Regions from separate parts of the Homo sapiens genome. Here region 2 is linked to region 1. The links are contacts of gene promoters, found by promoter capture Hi-C in blood cells and fetal thymus (Javierre and others, 2016). All regions are on one chromosome and are shown on one strand. Each heading gives the region's core, a stretch centred on a gene start or on the middle of the fragment in contact. The rest is flanking DNA. Distances are from core to core; before and after follow the strand shown.

What was found. Contacts are between HindIII fragments. The CHiCAGO score rates a contact against its expected background, and 5 or more counts as called.
Region 2: a contact is called between a fragment that was not itself captured here and the fragment with the promoter of ZNF804B in region 1, in 1 of 17 cell types (naive CD4 T cells). The highest score is 6.1, in naive CD4 T cells.

The regions. Positions count from the first base shown.
Region 1 is chr7:88,757,169-88,761,819 of GRCh38, reverse strand. ZNF804B (zinc finger protein 804B) reads right to left here and starts at 2,120. Exons shown (of 4, transcript NM_181646.5): 1 at 1,736-2,120. The coding sequence starts at 1,843. RefSeq lists an enhancer at 1,430-1,974. The HindIII fragment of the contact is 11,667 bases long and covers 1-3,596 here.
Region 2 is chr7:89,776,099-89,780,749 of GRCh38, reverse strand. No RefSeq gene overlaps it. Among named protein-coding and RNA genes, the nearest start is that of STEAP1, 380 kb to the left of the region's middle. The HindIII fragment of the contact is 5,196 bases long and covers 1-4,602 here.

The DNA.
Region 1 (4,651 bases), core at 871-3,370:
AACACCATAGTCTAACCAACTTGAATAGAACTAAACCGTGTAAGATTATGAAGCAATTCTCCCTTTATACTGAGAAGTCTTAAGGCACAAACAGTACAATGCCCTACCCAATTTAGTTTTCCATAACCAAAAGGAGGGCAAGGGAGACAGGCACGGAGATTACCAAAGCGTTGAAAAATAATACCTGTGAGAAAGGCAGAACATTGTATGTTTTCTAGATGAAATAGACTTAAAGAAGAATTTAAAGGATTTAAGTTGGCTGTAAGAAAGATTCTCCTGGCACTGTGAGTTGTTAAACATTAAAGTGGTTTGCTGAGACTGCAGGAACTCCAATTCTGAGAATCTTTAGAAATGGGAAAGATTCAGACCTGCTACTTAGAGGGACTGAATGTGGGCTTTATTAAACTAGAACTCTGCAAGTGCCTGCTAACCCTGTGAGTTTAATTGTTAAGTACTTATACAAACAGTATTTTCCATCTAACAGTTCTGACTCAGTACTGTATACAGTTGTTGGGGGGAGCAGTTGCAACAACCCACTTTTTATAGTACATAAAAGCATGTGAAGGAATAGTTTGTCATGAGGAATCCTAGTGATATCTCTGGGCACCTGTACTTTCTGATCTTAGATTTCTCATGTAAATTACATATAGCATTTATTAATAATCAAAGGCTTTTATAATATGTTGCAGTTTTGAATAATTCATGCTAAAGAAGCATTAAACCATGATGGAAAATATCAAACATAAAAAAATTAAAGTTGGGCAATTTCAGTTTTCCCTCTTGATATCATACAGACTTAAATACTGTTTTTTATATGAAACCTCAAAAGTTGGTCTTTAAGTTTGGATACTTAGTCACTAGTAGTCCAAAACTAATATATATATATATTTATTATATATATATTTATTATATATATATTTATTATATATATATATAAATTACACACACATACACATTCACACACATTTTCTTGAAACATATTTGGAGCCTTAAAACATAATAGCATGTACCAAGAAATGAATTAATAATGTATTTAACTCATATAATCTGGATGAAATTATTTTATAAAAAGAATGTGAATAAACTGAATAGTAACTAAATTGAATAGTTTACTAAGTTAAAAAGCAATCACGTTAATTGCATGTTAATATATTTGTATATTATACAATAAATTATCCAACTCAGATTTCCATAAAGAATTCTCTTACTTCCCCTTAAAGAATGTGCATAGTTGAGCATTAGATATAATCAAGTTTTCACTACCTATAACTTTCCTTTTGCCAATGATTTGAGGGAAAATCTTTGAGTTTTTCTCACAAAGTAACAGTAGCATTATTAAACTAATCTCAACTGATGACTTTACAAAAGCACATTATAACGTGCCACTCAAACTTTCTACACTGCTCAAATCAGCAGATTCGTAAGTTGACATAGCACAGAGGAGCTACCTTCTGAGCCCTGCAGTTGACTGCATTCAGTAAGTATTTACATCCGTAGCACTATAGATCCTACTGACTGAATTGAAAATACACATGTAAATACACACCCCTCTCTGTGTCACAGTCTGTCAATAAATTGTATAAACGGACACGATGTATCTCCATACCTATGGATAAGGTATACGTTTTAGATGTCCACCACCTACTCATTGTATCAGGATACTATCTCTCAATATCTTTTTGTTTGTGTTGAGTTGGAACGTTTGTGTATGTATGTGTGTGCGCGCGCACATTACCGGAGAGGGAGATCCGTTCTTGCACAGGGGTCCCCTGAAGACTCCTTTAATGCCCCGGTAGTGCCCATTGCTGAGATGTCTCGAACTGATGACCAGGTAACAAGCCATGTGGGTCCGGGCGGAGGCGCAGAGTCTCAACTCCTCACCAGGCGACCAGCCGTGGAAAGCGGGCGGGTTTCTCAGCGGCAACAGCGACTACCACCTCCCGAGAAGACGCGGCCAGCAGGACGCAGGGGGAGGCGGTGGCAGCGCGTCCCTGCTCCGCGCCCCGTGCGGGGCTCCTGCTGCCGACAGCTGCTGCTCTGACAGAGGCGGCGGCGGCGACAGCACAGAGCACGGAGGGGACCCGGCGAGCCAGTCCACATGCTGCTCTGACGAGGTGGCTGCTCAACCGCGGGCCAGCGATATATTTATTTAAGGACAACTTCCAGGGTCCACCAGGGAATCAGGAATTCCCCCGCCCCTTTCCTCCCGCCCCCTGCCTTCGCGCCTGGCGCCTGCCCGGGGGATGCTCAGGCGCGGGTACCCATCGTCCGGCCGGGGGCGTCCTGGGCTGCTGGCTGCAGTGTGAAGATCCAGCAGCAGCCGCCGCCACCGCCGCTGCTTTGTGGGGAGAGTGGCGGGGAGTCCTTGGGAGCGCCAAAGCGCTGCCCCCGCTGCAGTCGGGAGAGGGCGGAGGAGGAGACGGGCGGGCCGGGGTGAGGACAGGGAGTTGGGGACGCGGCGACCTGTGCTTGAGGAGGGCAGTTAGCGCCTCTGCTGGGAGCTGTGGGCTCGGGGCTGCCCAGGAGGCTCAGGTGTGCTGTGGGGCGAGGCCAGGAGGTGACAGCTGCCGCTGCAGCCGCGGGGGGCTCTCGGGGCTGCAGGACCCGCCTCTCCCACCTCCCGGCCTCAGCCGCCCAGCCCCCCGGTTCTTCTGCCCTATCTCTGAGCCAACTTTCTACTGTTTGGGAGTCACCTGGGAGGACTGGGGAGGCTGTGGTGGAGGAGATGGGCAGGAGGAGGGCGTTTTCTTTACTCTTTCGTTGCCTGCTGGCCTTCAGCTTTTCTTCAGCGCTCTGGCTGACGGCGGCGTTGGCAGAAGCAACAGCTCCCCAGCCGGTTGCAAGAATGAGCTGTGCAGCCACAAATAGGGCAGACAGATTAGATGCGCCGTGGTAGGGAACGCACGGACGAGGAAAGTTTTGGGCAGAAAACTTATATAAGGTATAGAAACGAGACATGCATACGTATATGTGCATATACATGCACGTACCCAGAGTTATGAAGATTCACTTACAAGCCTTTCTGTATCTTAGCGAGGCACATATTTTTGGTCTCTATAAGACCTCTGTGCTTTCAAAACCCCCAATAATCACCCCTCTCAGAAGTGGTTTTTAACGGACCTTATTTCGTTTACCGTAATTTAAGCCACCAGGGAGCGAGCTGCACTGAGAATAAAAAGACCTGGGCAGAAATGTGCTCTGAAAGGAGAAGATAGCCCTCCCAGGGTTTGGAGACACCCTGCACTCTCCTCCACCCCGCGGTTGCTTAATGCGGTTCTGCAATCCATCTCTGCCTCACCTCGCCTTGTCTGTGCCTGGGAGAAGGTAAAGGTTCACCTCCTCTCAGTCTGTTGCTTCAGCGCTGGAATTGAAAGGCTACCGCCAATGCGCTAATTCTCCCCAGTATTGTCCTCTCCTGTCTCCCACAATGCCCCATTCGCATCCCGGTTGACATTGACACAAAAGCAGAAACAGGTTAAAAGGAAAAAAAAACTGTTAATTTAATTTTTCCTATTCAGGCAACTCATAAAATTCTTAAGCAAAAAAGGAACAAAAAAGAATCTAATTATAACTTTTGTAACTACCCAATAAAAGCTTGACTTTTTGTTTACATCATTACAATGGCTTAATATCCTTAATATTTTATTTAAAAAATACATAGATGTACTTCTCATTTTAAAGGTTTTATATAGTCTTTTAAAGTGTTTGCAAAGCTTCTGAGTATATAAGGGAAAAATGCCAATTCCTTGCAAACCTTCAGAATAAAAATTACTGAAACTGGGATAGTGCAATGTAAATCTCAGGAATTGTTTATTTTAAATAAATTGTTGGTAAGAACTTTTGAAATAAAAATAAATTTATAGAGCAGTGGCAGCAGATGCAACAGATCCATCTTCTCCTTTCTATTGATGTATTTAACACCACAACAATGGCATGTTTAACAACGTAGTGTTTGTTCAACTTACAGCTGTAAAGTGTTTCCTGAAGCTGAGAACAAGTAATATTACTAGTGTATAGACATTAGATGTATTTTATACAAAGAAAACAATGTATTTGCAAATAGTAAAACTTCAAAAATAGGTGAAATATTGACCAAAAAATGAATAAAGTGGAATTTTTGAAGAAGATAGTGTGGCTCAGTTGATAGTTACTATTTCACTCTGGATAAATAAATGTAGGTAGCAAACAGCATTGAGGACCAACGCATAAGCAACTTAGAATGGATTAGAAAGATGAATGATGTCATTTCTGTAAATAACAGCCCAAGGGTACTATGTCTTCTTCATTGAGCAAATATACTTCCTAATACTGCTTAATTATTTTTACGAATCAGCCATATTTTTATAAAATGGAAGGATGGATAAGAGTAATCAAAATATAAAATTCAAACACACTATTCTGTTTTATATCTTATTCAAAGTACTTGTTAGCTATCCTGACATTCTTGTTCATTAGACCATTATCCTGTGTCTATTTGAGTTTTTCCCAGAGGAAACAAAATAATCTACTTTTTATAGTAATGTTTCAAAGACTACTGTAATTTTGCTGAATTTCTTAAAAATTTTTAAATTTCGAAATACTTTTCCTTTAGAAATGGATAATACAGAATTTGTTCATTTGCCATATTTTAAGCATTAGATTGTCCTTTTCT
Region 2 (4,651 bases), core at 755-3,254, 1.0 Mb before region 1:
AACATAGTGAATCAGAATATTTTCTTTACCCCGTCATGGGACTCGCAACAGGAGTGCCTCACTTGCTTAGCTTTCCCCTGTCTACCACTCGCTGGAGGTAACATGAGGGCAAATGAGTGCAGGAAACAGAGCAAGTGCTTTTGACCGCTGGCAGGAACAAACTCCATTTACTCAGCTCACTGTGCTTATCCCCTTGTGGGAGGGAATAAGTAGGTGAATGAGTACAGGCTCTGGCTGACCATTTTTGGGCACCAGCAGCAGTGAACTCTGTGCAGTCCCTGTGGCAGCATCCAGGCGGGGGTGCCTGCTACTCCCAAAGCCCCAGAGGGTGTGTTACATGCTCATTTAGCTCTGCCATTCACGGATGGCTTAAGCATTAACAGCTCAGTGGACCTTTGCCTTTTCATGTGAGGCAGCTTCTTTCTGCCAGCAAGAGTAAAGGGCCAGTGTGACATTTTGTATCTGTATTCATCATTCCTGAGCTCTTGTCCAGCATCCATGAAAAATAAGGTCACACTAATGAATAGAACAACGGTAAATGCAAGGGACTTTATAGCTGATGATAGAGGCTTTCAGTGGGAAGGGGGGATGAAAACGGGATGAAGTTGGTAGGTAAACTTCCCCTGAAGTCCGGCTGTCTCCAGATGGATTCTTCTTTGAAGTTATGCCAACAAGTTGTGCCTCTGAAGTGAAGCTACTTCTCTCTGATGTCCAGCCATAGTCCCGTCTACCAGCTGAGTCTGGGGTTTTTATAGGCATAGGGTGGGGTGGGGCAGGGCAGGGCAGGGCAGGGCCATGAGTGATTTAGGAAAAGGTAACATTCCAGTGGGAAAACAGGGATGTAAGTTCTTACTTTGGGCCGCAGTTTCAGGCTTTTTCAGCTGGAGGGTGGAGTTTTGCCAAGGACCCGCTCTTTTCTGCCTCCTGTCCCTATCAATACTGTTACCATGCAGTTTAGCAATTGTCCACCTATATATTTATTCAACTTACTTAAAAACTTATATCTGTATTCCACATTCCAAAACTGCATGCAAATGCTTACAGCAATTTAATTCATATTAATAATTACCCAAAACTAGAAGCAACCAATATTTCCTTCAATAGGGGAAGGGGAAACAATCTGTGATGCATCCACATAATGGAATATTATTCAGCAATAAAAGTGAATGGCTATCAAACCATGAAAAGACATGGAGAGACTTCAAGTATATATTGCTAAATAAAAATCTGAAAAGATTACATACTGTATGATTCAATTTATATGACATTCTGGGAGAGGCACAACTATGAATACACTAAACAGATCAGTAGTGATGGTCCTGGGGAAAAGGAGAGAGTTGAATAGAAAAAGCACAGAGGATTTTTTATGATGGTGAAACTACACTAAACAGATCAGTGGTGATGGTCTTGGGGAAAAGGAGAGAGTTGAATAGAAAAAGCACAGAGGATTTTTTATGATGGTGAAACTATTCTGTATAGTACTGTAATGTTGCTTACCTGACATTATGCAGTTGTTAAAATGTGTAGAGCTGGTCAGGCCCACGGTGGTTCATGCTTGTAATCCCAGCACTGTGGGAGGTGGAGGTAGGTGGATCACCTGAGGTCAGGAGTTTGAGACCAGTCTGGCCAACATGGTGAAACCACATCTCTACTAAAAACTACAAATATTAGCCAGGTGTGTTGGAGGGTGCCTGTAATCCCAGCTGCTTAGGAGGCTGAGGCAGGAGAATCGCTTGAACCCGGGAGGTGGAGGTTGCAGTGAGCCGAGATCACACCACTTCACTCCAGCCTGGGCAGCAGAGGGAAACTCCATCTCAAAAAAAAAAAAAAATGCATAGAACTTTACAGCACAAAAAGTGAATCTTAATATATGCAAGTTAAAATGAGTTCATTTAAGATAGTAGGAGATCCCAGAATGGAAAGCAAAGTATGGTGCAAGAATCTAACTGTATTACAAGGACATGAAACAACCTCATTGAAAGGTGTGGAGGAAAAGAGTACTGACATAAGGAATTTTGGAAATAAATGAAGTCTGTGAGCCTAAAGGCAAAAAGAGCTCTATATAAGCACTGTACTCTAGTTGATAATAGTCATAATCCCACAGAAATATAGGTTAACACTTCATGTATACAAATTGAAAAATTACATAAATGGATCAAGGGAGCCAGGTTTCTCACTGTTGGTATAGTAGAAAACAGATAAGCAGATGCAGAAAGCTAGAATTTATCTATGTGGTAATGGATTTGAGTTGAGGACATTCATGTGAACTCCTCTTTAGCTTAAGACAGATACAGATAGATACTTGTAAAATATTTATAGATATGTAAATGTAAACAGAGTAGTATACATGTATATTTCCTTACTTTTTCATCTGAGAGGACCTAGAAAAAGTGATACTCTCATAGCAGTGAACATGCCTAGCATCCAGAGCTTGGTTTCTAATATGATTTTCCATAAAAATAACAGCCTGGGTTTCTTGGAAAAATGACTGGAGCCAAGAATGTACAAGGTGAGTCTAGAGCATATTGTGGAACCAGAAAGTAAGAAAGCATGCAAAAAAACACAATAATGGGGGTGTGTTAGAAGGGACACAGGAACCAAATGAAAGAGCTCCCAATGGCCAAAAGTGGAACAATTTGAGCAACAAGATATGAAGTGGTATTGGATTATAATTCAAAGTATAGGATAAAGACATAATGTTTATGTACTTTGCCCTCAAAGAGATGAAGTATTAACTCCCTACTCCTTAAGTGCGGGCTTTCCATAGCAACTTCTTTCCAATAAGAATGATAAAGAAGCAGGAAGGTAAACTTATAGTGGAAAAATCTGGTAAACATTACTTTAGCCAAGTGAACAAGGTTGACATCAACAATGATAAGTCATACTGATAATGTTGCCTTTAAATGATGTTATATTTTATGAAATTGGCATATATACTTTTATGGTCTTCTTTCCTAAAAACCTATAATCTCAATCTAACCATGAAAAAAACACCAGATGAATCTCAGTCAAGGGAAAATATGGCTAGTATTCTGCAAAACTGTCAATGTCATCAGAAACAAGGAAAAGTAAGAAACAAATTGCTAACAGCCAATAGGAACTTAAGAGGACATGACAGTTAAACATGTATCTTGATGGGACCTTGGAGAAAAAGGTACATTAAATAAAAACTAAAACTAAGGAAATCTTAACAAAGTATGTAATTTTCACTCATTGCAAATGGTACTGCAAAATAGTACAAATTTATGGTAGTAAATTTGCAAATATCTAACAAATCTGCATATGCACATCCTTTGACAAGCAAATCTATCTCTAGTTATTTATGCTGGTGGTCATCTGCACAAATATGCAACAATATATGCAAAGGGTTATTAATTAGCTAGATTTAACTATTCCACAATGTGTATACTCTTCAAAATATCATGTTGCACATAATAAAAACATACCATGTTTTTTGTCAATTGAAAAATATTGATGACAACTTAGACACATCTGTTATGAATTTACATTCAAAATTGAAAGTGAGGCAGCAGTAACAAGAAATGAGGATGCCATTTATATGCCGATGTGGCATAAACTTCAGGATATAGTGATAAGTCAAAACAGCAAGGTATGCAAGATGATATATAAAATGTTACCTTTTTTAATTAAACAGGACAATTGATATATGCATGTTTGCTTGTTTTTGCATAAAGAAGCTCAGGAAGTGATGCGTAGGAATGTCAGAATGTAGAAGATGTAGGGAGAGAATTGAGGGTTCTCTGACTATGCCTGTGTATATAGCTTTACATTATGAATCATGTAAAAAATGATTTACATTAAAAAAATGAGATCAGGCACATTCAGGGTGATCTGGCCATAGACAAAAATAAATTAAAAAATTAAAAAGAATAAAAACACATGAGAAATACACAAAAATAATATTTTCAAAGGGACAATGAAACCAGAGTAAATAATTAATTCAAATAACTATTGAATATAATATTCTTGCTCTATGCTTTTAATGGAATATATTCTGGGACACACAAAACTTCCCAATCACTATAAAGAATATTAGACTTTACTTAGTATGGTTGCTGTTAGTAGTGATATTGGTGTTGTATTTCTAAAAGCATTATTTATGTGTTTTAGGAAAAAGCAAATGTATAAAATAAAGATATTGTTAAACTTTTACTATGGGTAAAGGGAGATGCCAATATGGAGTGGTAAAAGGTGAAAATAATTTTATGTTATTGAAAAAAATATATATATTCATATATATTCCTATATATTGCAGCAATTATAAATAAAATGCAGTACTTCTATATATATAAAAATTCACCTATGTGTTGAATAATACATCCATAATATACATCTATAGTTCAACTGTGTATTTGTGGGTATGTATTTGTGGTTTCCTAGATCTGTCCCTGAAAGTGTATAGAAGCAATGACACCCTAGTGGCAATGAGCAGCTAGCAGTATAACATAGTGATACATCTAGATTTCTAAATATAATATCCTACCAAAAGGAATTTTGACTCCTTGGAAAAATAGCTGTTTTCACATCTGCACAAAGGAAAGTACAAATTGAGCCTGAAACATCTTCTTGTAACAGAAAGCTTGAAGAAATACACAAGGATGGGGTAAGGCTAAAAGGATACAGGAGCCAG